Regions from separate parts of the Homo sapiens genome. Here all the other regions are linked to region 3. The links are contacts of gene promoters, found by promoter capture Hi-C in human tissues and cell types (Jung and others, 2019). All regions are on one chromosome and are shown on one strand. The core of a region is centred on a gene start or on the middle of the fragment in contact, and the rest is flanking DNA. Distances in the headings are between cores, read along the strand shown. Region 1 overlaps CHAF1A (chromatin assembly factor 1 subunit A). Region 2 holds the start of UBXN6 (UBX domain protein 6). Region 3 holds the start of SHD (Src homology 2 domain containing transforming protein D).

Region 1 (4,039 bases), core at 1,270-3,769, 140 kb before region 3:
GGACTGGCCAGGCGCGGCGGCTCACACCTGTAATCCCAGCACTCTGGGAGGCCGAGGCGGGCGGATCACGAGGTCAGGAGATCGAGACCATCCTGGCTAACATGGTGAAACCCCGTCTCTACTAAAAATACAAAAAATTAGCCAGGCGTGGTGGTGGATGCCTGTAGTCCCAACTACTGGGGAGGCTGAGCCAGGAGAATGGCGTGAACCTGGGAGGTGGAGCTTGCAGTGAGCCGAGATCGCACCACTGCACCCCAGCCTGGGTGGCAGAGCGAGACTCTGTCTCAAAAAAAAAAAAAAAAAAAAAAAAGAGACAGGACTACAAGGAAATGGACTGGGTTTTTGGAAGGTAATTTGAAGCTACAATGGGATACTGAACCATTAAGACAGTGGTAGCACTATTGATAAAAGCTTAGAAAAGGCCACACACAAAACCTTAGGACTCACTCAGCAAGCCAAAAAATGACACAATCCACAAACCATGAAGTCCAAGTACTTAAAATGAAGCAGGAATCAAAATGATGGTCAGAGAAGGCTGGGGAAAATGTAAAAACTAGACCAAAGGAACTTCAAAGGGCTTTGCTTACTATTTAATGCAAAAAGCACAGCAGGTTAATTTTCTATTTCAGGGAAAATGTCTTACTCTTTGCAGTCTGAGCTTGTTCTTCTCTGTAGAGCCTTTGACGAATTTCTTAGTTATCTGAAAACAGAAGACGTTTATCTTTAAACACGGGTTATTTCAATTGCTTCGAGAAAAAGAGAAACCTTTCCAGGTGATCAGTTTTTCCACCAACAGAACCAAAATGTCATAATAGGGTCACAAACTCCAGTAAGTGTGCATACATGTGTGTATCTGGGATTAGATAACAAGAGAGACTACGGAGGCAGATAAAGAAATGAGTGAAGGACACCAAGCACAAGAAAAACAAGGCAAGCTCAGAAATAAAGGCAACAGACAAGGCTGGGCGCGGTGGCTAACGCCTGTAATTCCAGCACTTTGGGAGGCCGAGGCAGACAGATCACCTGAGGTCAGGAGTTCGAGACCAGCCTGGCCAACGTGGCAAAACCCCATCTCTACTAAAAATACAAAAATTAGCCGAGCGTGGTGGCAGGTGCCTGTAATCCCACCTACTCAGGAGGCTGAGGCAGAAGAATCGCTTGAACCCAGGAGAAGGAGGTTGCAGTGAGCCGAGATTGCGCCACCATACTCCTGCCTGGGCAACAGGGTGAGACTCTGTCTTAAAAAAAAAAAAAAAAAAAAAGCGACAGCTGGCCTGGGCGACAGGGAGAGGATGGATTTGTAGCAAAGGAGAGAGGACCTGCCTGTCCAAAGGAGATGGAGTTCTTACAGGAATATAGATCCCTATTTGCTGGTCCTTCCAATTTCTCCAAGAGAAGCTGATATTAGGAATTTCATATGAATTTTTTTAGGTGTTTAAAAATGGACACAGACGGGCACAGTGGCTCATGCCTGTAATCCCAGCACTTTGGGAGGTCAAGGCGGGAGGATCACTTGAGCCCAGGAGTTCAAGACCAGCCTGGGCAATAAAGCAAGACCCTGTCTCTAAAAAAAGCTTTTAGTTAGTCGGGTGTTGTGGTGCACATCTGTAGTCCTAGCTACCCAGGAGTCTGGGGTGGGAGGAGCCCGGGAGGTTGAGGCTGCACTGAGCTGTCCAACCTGGGTGACAGAGTGAGACTGTCTAAAAAAAAAATAAAAAGATACTAAATTAATCAAATAAAACATGTCTCCAGGCTGGTTTCCTGTGCACCACTAATTTACATTCTGTCTAGCTCAACTCTGCTTTTTATTTTAATGTTATTTTTGAGATGGAGTCTTACTCCTGTCACAGAGGCTGGAGTGCAGCGAGTGCCACGATCTCGGCTCACTGCAACCTCTACCTCCCAAGTTCAAGCGATTCTCCTGCCTCAGCTTCTTGAGTAGCTGGGATTATAGGCGTGTGCCACCACACCTGGCTAATTTTTGTATTTTTAGTGGAGATAGGGGTTTCATCATGTTGGCCAGGCTGGTCTCGAACTCCTGACCTCAGGTGATCCACCCGCCTCGCCTCCCAAAGTGCTAGGAATTCAGGCGTGAGCCACCGCGCCCAGCCAACTCTGCTTTTTAGAATGTGGAGTGAAAGCTTAAGACAAAAGGGAAACTTGCTGGGGTTTTCTAGGACTTCTACCTTCTAGGGCACAATATTTTCTATCACCTACCTTCAAACTGAGCATGAGCTACTAGGAATTACCAATAGGATCCATGGTGTGACTCACCATCCACCTAAATGGTCCCAGGAAGGAAGACGAACAGGGAGTCTGGACTTTGGCCTAAGCTATCTCCCACCGGGGCAGGGAATCCTGAAAACCAAACTAGTAGAAGTGAAGAGCAATGGGAAGAGACGCTTAAGAGTGGGAAGAAATAGTTCTCCGGGTTCATTGCAGACTTGCAGTGTAAGACTGAAGTTGACTGAAAAACCAAAGGCCCATTTTCCTGGCAATGGTCTGAGGGGTCAACAAAATTATGTAAGTGATTTCTTTTTTTTTTTGAGACGGAGTCTCGCTCTGTCGCCCAGGCTGGAGTGCAGTGGCGCCATCTCGGATCACTGCAAGCTCCGCCTCCCGGGTTCAAGCGATTCTCCTGCCTCAGTCTGCCCAGTAGCTGGGACTATAGGTGCCCACCACCATGCCTGGGTAATTTTTTTGTATTTTTAGTAGAGATGGGGTTTCACCATGTTAGCCAGGATGGTCTCGATCTCCTGACCTCGTGATCCGCCCGCCTCGGCCTCCCAAAGTGCTGGGATTAAAGGCGTGAGCCACCGCGCCCGGCCAACAGTGATTTCTTTATCTGGGAAAGCTGAACCCCTGACTAGGACCTCTCACAGAATAAAAGCTTCAGATGAATGAGCTCAAGACAGCCTTTCCACCTGGGTCCCACTGAGTCCTTTCTGGACTAAACCTTTCTTTAGGGAAAGGCCGAGCCGTTGTGAGAAGGCTGCCCGTGTTGGCAGGAGCTCTTTCACCACCGAGATCAGGCCAGGGTGTTCAGTCTTTGCTGAGAATGTGGCAACAGAAATGCCAGCCCGAGGCAGCCTCACCAAATGCTGCAGAAAAAGCATCTGTCTCTCCAGCATCTACTCTGCCTGCCAAGGCTGTGTGCCTCTCCCCCACGCTGAGGGATTTAACTGCAGAATATGGGAGCCGCAGCTCTCCGGGGCTGCCCTTTGTGTTCAGAGATTATAATACGGAATGTGGTCTTGGGGTGGCGGGGAATTCAGTTCCTTAGTCTTGCCCATGCCTGAAGCTCAGCTGCAGAATCTCCTGCCTCTTACAATGCCCCCCCTCTGCTGTGAGTCCAGAGATAACAGACTTGATGTGACTGGCAAGAGCCCGCTCAGTAATATCCAACAACCAAAACAGAGCAATTACTGCTTAATTTAAAACTGGTATCTTTTTTGCTTTGCCAAACCCTCAGATGGACCTTGAAGTCTGACAGAACTTTATCTTCTTGAAATTTGACCCAAGTGTTTATAGATCTCACTCTCAAAATTCTATGCAACACTCCCACATTCTACCCAGCTGGAGCCCGGTCAGACAGCACCCTCAACTGCCAAAAACGTGATCCAGGATCCCAGAAGGAAGCCAAAACACAAAAACCGACAATCCCAAGGAGTCGCGACAGAGCTCACTATGTGTGGGCATGAAAATTCCTGCACCCTTTCTCAGATAATCCTCTCAGAGCCTATGGACTCTGATTTTATACTAAAGGGTATCTAATTTCTAAGCCCAGACCAGATAAGCCGCTAAAACCTGACAGCAGGGGAGCGGAGGCAGGGGGGAAAAGAGAAAACCTCCAATTGGCCCAAGCATGAGAGAGTGCAAGCTGGGAAAATAAGAACGCACGCATTGCCTTGAGCTACCAAGACCTCATTCTCCTTAACAGCCCAAGGCCACTTGTAGAAGGAAGCTCAAGGGAACAATCATTTTGTGAAAGCCAAGCACAGAAACAGCAGAACTGAGAAAACAGCTCTGTAACCTACAG
Region 2 (4,429 bases), core at 1,765-4,264, 180 kb before region 3:
TCTGGTAAAGGAGAATGCCTAGGCAAAGGCCCAGAGGTGAGCTGGAAATACTTCCAGGTAACTGAGGCAGAGGTGGAAAGGTGGGTGATAACAAGAAACGGGGTTTCTGAAACCCTCAGAATACTTAGAACCTGAAATAGAAATTTATTAGGGCCTATTAATGTTAGGATCTCCTTAGACCAGGCTGAGGAACCCCATAGGATTTTATTCTTGGAGAAGTGGGATGGGTCTCTGCCACTTTCCAGCTGTGTGACTTTGGCCCAGTGTTGTACCTTTATTTGAGTTATAGGGTATACAATTCCTTATTCACAACAATGAGCTGTAATTTTCTTTTCTTTTCTTTTTGAGACGGAGTCTTGCTCTGTTGCCAAGCTGGATTGCAGTGGCGCAGTCTCGGCTCACTGCAACCTCTGCTTCCCAAGTTCAGGTGATTCTCCTGCCTTAGCCTCCTGAGTAGCTGGGATTACAGGCATGAGCCACCGTGCCCGGCATACTGAGAACTTTCTAATCACATGATCACCCCTACAATCTATAGAGAGTGTTATTCTTATCCCCATTTCATAGATAGGAGACTGGAGATCAGAAAGATTGAAGTTTGGGTTGCACTGTATTCTTCTTTTATTTATTTATTTTTTTACTTTATTTATTTATTTTTGAGACAGAGTCTCGCTCTGTCGCCCAGGCTGGAGTGCAGTGGTGCAATCTCAGCTCACTGCAACCTCTGTCTCCTGCGTTCAAGTGATTCTGCTGCCTCAGCTTCTCAAGTAGCTGGGATTACTGGCACACACCACCACACCCGGCTGATTTTTGTATTTTTAATAGAGACGGGGTTTTGCTATGTTGGCCAGGTCGGTCTTGAACTTCTGACCTTAAGTGATCCACCCGCCTTGACCTCCCAAAGTGCTGGGATTACAGGTGTGAGCCACCGCACCTGGCCCAATTCTTTTCCTTTTTTTTTTTTTTTTGAAACGGAGTCTTGCTCTGTTGCCCAGGCTGGAGCACAGTGGCATGATCTCGGCTCACTGTAAGCTCTGCCTCCTGGGTTCACGCCATTCTCCTGCCTCAGCCTCCCAAGTAGCTGGGACTACAGGCGCCCGCCACCAAGGCTGGCTAATTTTTTTAAAAATTATTTTCAGTAAAGACAGGGTTTCACCGTATTAGCCGGGATGGTCTCAATCTCCTGACCTCGTGATCCACCCGCCTCGGCCTTCCAAAGGGCTGGGATTACAGGCATGAGCCACCGTGCCTGGCCTTTTTTTCTTTTTTTAATAAGACAGGGTCTGGCTCTGTTGCCCAGGCTGGAGTGCAGTGGCGTGATCCTAGCTTACTGCAGCCTCCAATTCCTGGGCTAAAGCAATCCTCCCACCTTGGCCTCCCAAAATGTTGGGACTGCAGGCCTGAGCCACCCGTCCAACCCATGATATTTCAATTTCAGTCTTGGGGTGGGCTGTTTCCTCACCTGGAGGCTTCTCCTCCATCAGTCTCTGTGTATCTCATTCCAACTCCTTCTTTTTTGAGGCAGAGTCTCCCTCTGTTGCCCAGGCTGAAGTGCAATGGCGAGATCTCGGCTCACTGCAACCTCCACCTGCCGGGTTCAAGCGATTCTCCTGCCTCAGCCTCCCGAGTAGCTGGGATTACCGGTGCCCATAGAGACAGGCTTTCACCATGTTGGCCAGGCTGGTCTCAAACTCCTGACCTCAAGTGATCCGCCGGCCTCGGCCTCCCAAAGTGCTGGGATTAGAGGCATGAGCCACCACGTCTGACCCCCAACTCCCATTTTTTGAGGCTTGTTTTAACTGTCACTTTGTGTATCTTCTTTGTGGATTGCACAGACCAAAGTACGCCACTATTAACTGGTGTCCACCAAAGTGGATCCCCAATCCCCAGGTCCCAATTGGGTGCATTGGGTGCATCCTCTTTTTTTTTTTTTTTTTTTTTTTTTGAGACGGAGTCTCGCTCTGTCGCCCAGGCTGGAGTGCAGTGGTGAGATCTCGGCTCACTGCAAGCTCCGCCTCGCGGGTTCACGCCATTCTCCTGCCTCAGCCTCCCGAGTAGCTGTGAGTACAGACGCCTGCCACCATGCCCGGCTAATTTTTTGTATTTTTAGTAGAGACGGGGTATCACCGTGTTAGCCAGGATGGTCTCGATCTCCTGACCTTGTGATCCGCCCGCTTCGGCCTCCCAAAGTGCTGGGATTACAGGCATGAGCCACCGCGCCCGGCCCAGGTGCATCCTCTTAAACAGCTCCTACCTAGGGTACGTGGTGATGGTGGCGGGGGGGTGCTTCAGGCACCAAAACAGGCCAGATCGTGGGGGCCTCCAATACCCAACATTGAATTGGGATTTTATCACGTAAGCTCTGGGGAGACAGAGAAGGTTGGAATTTTTTTTGTTTTGCTTGAGACAGGGTCTCTCTCTGTCGCCCAGGCTGGAATGCAGTGGCTTGATCACAGCTCACTGCAGCCTCGACCTCTTGGGTTCAAGCGATCCTCCCGCCTCTGCCTCCCAAGTAGCTGAGAGGCGCGCGCCACCACCCTCGGCTAATTTATTTTATTTTATTTTTTTTTTTTTTATAGAGACGAGGTTTTGCCATGTTGCCAGGCTGGTCTCCAACTTCTGGGATCAAGCAATCCTTCCGCTTGAGCCTCCAAAGTGCTGTGATTGCAGGCGTGAGCCACCGCGCCTAGTTTAGGTTGAGCAGCGAAAGGGATAGGGCCCAGTGCTTTCTCTGCGAGGTTCAGTTGGCCTGTCCCTGTCCTATCACCGTTTGTCACCGTTTGGGGAGCGCCACGGAATGCCCTGTCTCCAATCGAGAGGTGCACTCGTCGCCCTGGCAACGGAGTCCGGAAGAACCACAGAGACGCGGCTCCAGCGTACAGAGCGGCCGCCCTGGGCCAGCAAGGCACCGAGCGCTAGAGAGGCACGTCTAGTCGATTGTCACGTGGCAGGCCAGGGGAAGGCGGGACTTCCGGCGGCGAGGTAAATTTTTTTTTTTTTTTTTTTTTTTTTTTTAATTTTCTTCCGGTGGCTGGTCTCCGGCGGCCCCGTCCCCGACTGGGCCCCGTGCCCCCCCGCCCCCGCGGCCCCCCGCCGCCGGGCCAGCCGCCACCATGAAGAAATTCTTTCAGGAGTTCAAGGCCGACATCAAGTTCAAGAGCGCGGGACCCGGTCAGAAGCTCAAAGAGTCCGTGGGGTGCGTGAGGAACGCAGGGGCTTGAGGCCCTGCGGGGCGGGGACGGCCGGGGAGAGAGATCTGGGGCCTTGGGCGGCTCGGGAGATCGGAGAGGATGAGGGGCTGGGAGCGGCACGCGAGGGTCAGGGGAGGGGGAGAGGCGCCGGGGGCGGACGAAGTCGGGCCGAGGGTGGGCGTCAGGGGGAGGGGAGAGAGATCTGGGGGCGGGGCAGGAGGGGGCGGGTATGACCCGGGGGCGCGGCGGGGGAGGCGAGGGGAGGGGAACTAGCGCAGGGGGCGGGGCGGGAGGGGAGGTCTCGGGGGCGGGGCCGCAGGAGGGTCCGATGCAGTGGCGGGGGATTAGGGCGACGGGGCTGTAGGCAGTTGGGGGTCAGTGGAACGACCTTTGGGGAAAAACGGGATCATGAGTCCTGAGCCGGGTGGTGAGGGAGAGCTCTGTCTGGGGACCCGGCTGGCCGAAGAGGCCGGGATGATTTGGGGCAATCTAGGTGACCATGGATGGGAGCTGAGCTTGGAGGAGGACGCACAGCTGTGGGGTGGGGTGGTGAAGAGTTGTTTTGAGGTATCCATGGGAAGAGGGGTTCTGGATTTGGTATCTGGAGCACGTGGGAGGCTGATGGGAGACTAGAAAGAGTCTGGAAGGCCAGGGAGGCCGGGGTGGGCAGCGTCGTCAGTGACCTGGGATGTCCTGGCGAATTGAGAGGGAGGGGCTGAGGAAGGTGTGTGAGGAGAGTGGAGGTGAGGGATTCTGACAGATGGACTCTTACCCGGGAGGGGCCTGAGAGGAGAAGACGGGTGAGACAGACGCGTCTTAGCAGGCTGGGAGAAAGAGCTTCTCTGCGAGGCTTCTCTGCCACGTCACTGTGCCAAGTGGATTATGGAAGTGGGAGAGGAGGGGAAAGGAGATAGATGCCGGGCAGGCTTCCGGATTGTCTAGGGAGGACTTGGAGAGAAGGGCCTGAGCAGGGCTGAGCCAGCTGGGAGGGCCGGGGAAGAAGTGGAGCTAGGGAAGGTGCAAGGCTGAGGGCTGTTGGGTTGAGAAAAGGGAAACTGGAGAGCTGGGGCCGCTGCAGGGAGCTGGCTGGCCAGAGGGTGGTGGGGACTGATGGAGAGGGACTGAGGAAGTCAGCCAGGCAGCCAGGACACGGGTCTGTAAGCAATAGTGGAAGGGATTGTGAGGGAGTGGGGGCTGGGAGAGGCAGGGAGGTGGCAGGAAGTGGGGGTCAGGAATCACGG
Region 3 (4,424 bases), core at 594-3,093:
TACCGTTCTGCGAGCCTCAGTTTCGCTTCTGTAAAACGGGAACATAGTGGTAGGAAGGGCAGCATCACCGGGAGGATATTTAGGTGCCCAGCAGGGGAGCAACTCACTCAGATCTATTTTAGGAAGATCCCACCAGGTTCCAAGAGGAAGGGGTGCTGAGGGGAGGGGGCTGGGGGACTGCAGGGGATGACCATGGAGGAGGAGGAGGACCCGGAGACCAAGCAGGGTGGTCAGAGAGGCAGAAGGACAACCAGCATTATGCATTGAAAAGGGACAGATATCCACCGGGCGCAGTGACTCACACCTGTAATCCCAGCACTTCGGGAGGCAGAGGCGGGAGGATCACCTGAGGTCAGGAGTTTGAGTCCAGCCTGGCTAACATGGTGAAACCAGTCTCTACTGAAAATACAAAAATTAGCCGGGTGTGGTGGCACACACCTGTAATCTCAGCTACTGGAGAGGCTGAGGCAGGAGAATCGCTTGAACCCCAGGAGGTGGAGGTTGCAATGAGCCGAGATCCCACCACTGCACTCCAGCCTGGGTGACAGGGGGAGACTGTCTCAAAATAAATAAATACATAAAAAGAACAGACTTCCCCAAGCAGGTGGAGGTCTGGAGGACTGGGAAGGGTCTGTCTGGTGCCCCAGTCCCCTCCTGTGATCACACATAAAATAAGCTCTCCACGATCCAGAGAGCCCATCCTGAGCCTCCCCTCCACCCAGTCTCCCCAGGCCACCCAGCCACGCACCTCCTCCCCGGGGCCGCCCAGAAGGGCCTTGGCTCTGGCCATATCCGCAGCCTCCACCTTGATGAGCCGGTGCTTGGGAGAACCATACTTGGCATCTCCGGGGTTCTTGGAGTCCCCAGGGCCCGCGGGGTCCGGCTCCAAGCGGCTCTCCGCGTCCTCATAGGGGTCCTCGAAGTCCAGGTTCTTCTGCGCGCGGTAGGCCCTCAGGATGTCGCTCTCGGTGTAGTCCGGGGTGGGCGGCTGCGGAGGGGGCCTCCGACCCCCAAAGCTCAGGTAGTCCCGTAGCCACTTGGCCATTTGGGCGCCTGTCACCCCAATCGGGCCACTGTCAGAGGGGCCCCCACATGCCCTTCTCCGGGCCCCTTTCCCCAAGGAGGAGGAGGAGGTGGAGAGGAAGGGAAGAGCAGGGAAGGATGAGAAAGATCAGGTGCGCCCTTTGGCGGGGCTCTGGATGGATAGAGGGAAGGAAAAGGTGAACGAGGGGGAGGAAAAGGAGGCGACAGAGGAGGGAGGAAGAGAAGCCCGCCTTAGCCCAGCTTGGGAAGCACCGCGGGGGAAGGGGGGACCTCGCAGGGCCCCGAACCCCGCGCGCTGGGGGCTAGGGCGAGGGGCATCCGCGGAGGCGCGCGGAGTTTCCGCGGGCAGCGCGGTTCCCTGGAGCGACACGGCCGCCCGCCGCCTCCAGGAAGCTCCGGGATCCCTTCCTGGGGTCGGGAGATCCGGGCCAGCGCCACCTGCGGACGCTCCCGGCCCCTCTCCCAGCCCGGACGCCTGGGTTCTCAGCGCAGCGGGCGGGCTCCCCAGGGGCGCGGGCGCCGCGCGCAAAGTTGGGCCGCGGAGACTGTGACCCCGGCGGGACGCATCCTTTGTCGCGCTCCTCTCGGCTCAGCGGGGAGCCCCCAGTCCCGCGGCCCCCGCCGCCTCGATCCGGCCCCAGCCACCCGCACAAAGGGAAATAAAAACCTCCTCCAATCCCCCTTCACGCTTTCGGAGAGACTTTCCCCGCCGCCGCCGGGAGGTGGGACGCTGGGGAGGGGGGCGCGCAGGAGGACGCCCCTGTTCCCACCAGCCCCGGGCCGCGTCCCGGGCAGCAGCGTCAAGGCTCCCCCACCTCCCCTCCGCCGCGTCCCCCGCCCCTCCCCTCCCCCTGCGCTCCCCTCGGAGGTGACTGAGACCTTCAGCTGTTCTGGGGAGGGAGGGAGCCGCTGCCCGCGGAGGGAAGGGGGGCTGGGGGCGGGAGTCGCCGGGGCCGAGGCCGCGGCAGCTGGACACTGACCGGGACGCCCGAGACTGGCCGCAGCGAGCGCGGAGCGCGGGAGGTGGGGAGCAGCTGGGAGTGACACTGCTGGGGAGGGGAGGGGAGAGGGAGAAGGAGGGGAGGGGGAAATTGCCCGGGAAATGGGGGACTGCACTTGACCGCCAAAAGGGGTGAAATTGACCAGCAGAGGGGGTGGGAATGACCGCCAGTGAGGGTCGAAATGGAACCGATGTCTGGCGGTGAAACGGACCGGGAGAGTGGGGATGTGCAAATTGGTGGAGAGGTCACTGGCTGAAATTGATATTGGAGCAGCAGAAGGAAGAGGGGGGCAAAGGAAGGGTGGGTGCGGATCGGGCTTCCCCTCCCCCAAGAGGGCTCTGCTCTGTGCCCCGCTCCCGCCCCAGAGGACTAATTGCGGGCAGGGGGAGGGTTGGGGGCAGCTGGCTTGGGGAAGGGAGATGGTATCTGTGCCTGGCGCCTGTCCTCTGCATCTGTCCTTTTGTGGCTTCTGGGGGCGGGGTGGGGGGGAGCGGTGGCGGGAAGAGGGGCAGAAGTGAGAGGGGTCTGGCCTGAACTGGCTGCCTGTTGTCAGCTGTCGTTGTCTGAGGGTGAGGGCACTGAGAGGTTTGGGGGGTGGGAGAGGAAAAGGGAGCCACTGGCCAATTTTCCAGTGCAGAACCGTTTTTTTTCTTTCCCCATAAGGGGGCTTGCCCAGTTCCTCCTAATGAGGGGAGTGAGAGAGGGGTGGTCAGGAAGGATGGGACCCCAGATTCTCTCCTCTTGTGGCCAGCCCCCTGGTCAGGCACAGGTCATAGCTTGGAGAGCACAGTTGGAGGACAAGACAGAAGTCAGAACCAACACTGCTATGACTGGGGCCTCCTGGCAGCCCGGCGGGGCTGAGGGCAGGGTCTGTCACTCCCTGAGTCTTGGTTTTCCTTATTTGAAAGATGTGGTTTCTAACAGGAAATCCCAGACAGCTCTAGGAAGGATTCCAGGAGGGACCGAGCTATCACCTGGCTTCCTCATTTTATGGATGGGGAAACCGAGGCACAGAGATGGGAGGGACTTGTTCAGAGCCACTCCACAGCTGATTCTGCCTGCACATCGCCGTGGGGCCTGGCCTAGGGTGGCACTGGAGTCTCTCTTTTTATTTTTTTGAGACGGAGCCTTGCTCTGTCCTCCAGGCTGGAGTGCCGTGTTGCGATCTCAGCTCACTGAAACCTCCACCTCCCAGGTCCAACCAATTCTCCTGCCTCAGCCTCCTGAGTAGCTGGGATTACTGCCACCACGCCCAGCTAATTTTTATATAATTTTATATTTTTAGTAGAGATGGGGTTTCACCACATTGGCCAGGCTGGTCTGGAACTCCTGACCTCAGGTGATCTGCCGGCCTCGGCCTCCCAAAATGCTCTTCATGGAATCGGTTCTGCAACTCCTCTCCACGATGAGCTCCATTATCCAGATGGGAAAACTGAGGCCTGGAGCCAACAAGGCAAAGCCCCTGAAGGATGCAGGCGTCTAGACCCTTCTGTTCCTCCCCTTCCCTGCACTGGCTGTGTCCCCCAACACAGACCTGTTGAACTCCTTCCTCCCTCCTGAAGTGCATGGCCACCCCCGCTTCCCCCCACCCTTTCAGATCAGCGACAAGGCTGCGTCCCTGGGGGCGGCCAGGGAGCACAGCGGGTAATTGTCCTGCTTTCTGTCAGCCGCAAGGCAATTCCGGGCCACGGGGATGAGCTGTTGACAGATCTCATCAAATCCAAGTCGTCTCCCTGCCGGATAAAACTAGATGTCTGAGGTATAAATATTTGAAAGGGGCCTTCTAATTACAATCTGTGTCAGGAATAGCAATTAGAGGCCCCGGGGCCGGAATCAAACGGCATTTGACTTTCCTGTGCTTTGGAGCTGGCTTCTCCTGGGGCTGCACCCCGACCCTACCCCAAGGAGGGGAGTGGGGAGAGGCTGGCAGGGAGAGGCAGGAGGATTAGGTAGAAGAGAAAGAGATCCAGGCTAGGGGTCCAGTCACCTTCCCCTGTGACCTTGAATCAGCCACGTAACCTTGTGAGATTTGGATTTTTCTTTTCTCCCTTTTTTTTTTTTTTTTGAGACAGGGTCTCTCGCTCTGTTGCCCAGGCTGGAGATGCAATCACAGCTCACTGCAGCCTCACATTCAACATCCTGGGCTCAAATGATCCTCCCATCTCAGCCTCCTGGTAGCTAGGACCACAGGTGCATACCACAAAACCCGGCTTTTTTTTTGCTTTTTTTTTTTTCTTACGCAGAGTCTCACTTTGTTGCCCGGGCCTGGAGTGCAGTGGTGCGATCTCGGCTCACTGCAAGCTCCGCCTCCCGGGTTCACACCATTCTCCTGCCTCAGCCTCCCGAGTAGCTGGGACTACAGGCACCCGCCACCATGCC

Evidence for each region. The method cuts DNA at HindIII sites, captures the fragments that hold promoters and counts their contacts. A contact is called where the count stands out against the background at its distance.
Region 1: a fragment that was not itself captured here is called in contact with the fragment with the promoter of SHD in region 3 in 5 of the 25 tissues and cell types used here (bladder, dorsolateral prefrontal cortex, liver and 2 more).
Region 2: a contact is called between the fragment with the promoter of UBXN6 here and the fragment with the promoter of SHD in region 3, in 2 of the 25 tissues and cell types used here (dorsolateral prefrontal cortex and lymphoblastoid cells).

What each region holds. Positions count from the first base shown.
Region 1 is chr19:4,414,681-4,418,719 of GRCh38, reverse strand. CHAF1A (chromatin assembly factor 1 subunit A) reads right to left here. Exons shown (of 15, transcript NM_005483.3): 4 at 644-700. Among named protein-coding and RNA genes, the nearest start is that of CHAF1A, 14 kb to the right of the region's middle. The HindIII fragment of the contact is 3,051 bases long and covers 994-4,039 here.
Region 2 is chr19:4,456,379-4,460,807 of GRCh38, reverse strand. UBXN6 (UBX domain protein 6) reads left to right here and starts at 3,014. Exons shown (of 11, transcript NM_025241.3): 1 at 3,014-3,193. The coding sequence starts at 3,111. RefSeq lists an enhancer at 2,753-2,952 and silencers at 3,063-3,112, 3,143-3,212. The HindIII fragment of the contact is 9,046 bases long and covers 1-4,429 here.
Region 3 is chr19:4,276,685-4,281,108 of GRCh38, reverse strand. It overlaps SHD (Src homology 2 domain containing transforming protein D), which reads right to left and starts at 1,843. Exons shown (of 6, transcript NM_020209.4): 1 at 749-1,843. The coding sequence starts at 1,045. The HindIII fragment of the contact is 14,506 bases long and covers 1-4,424 here.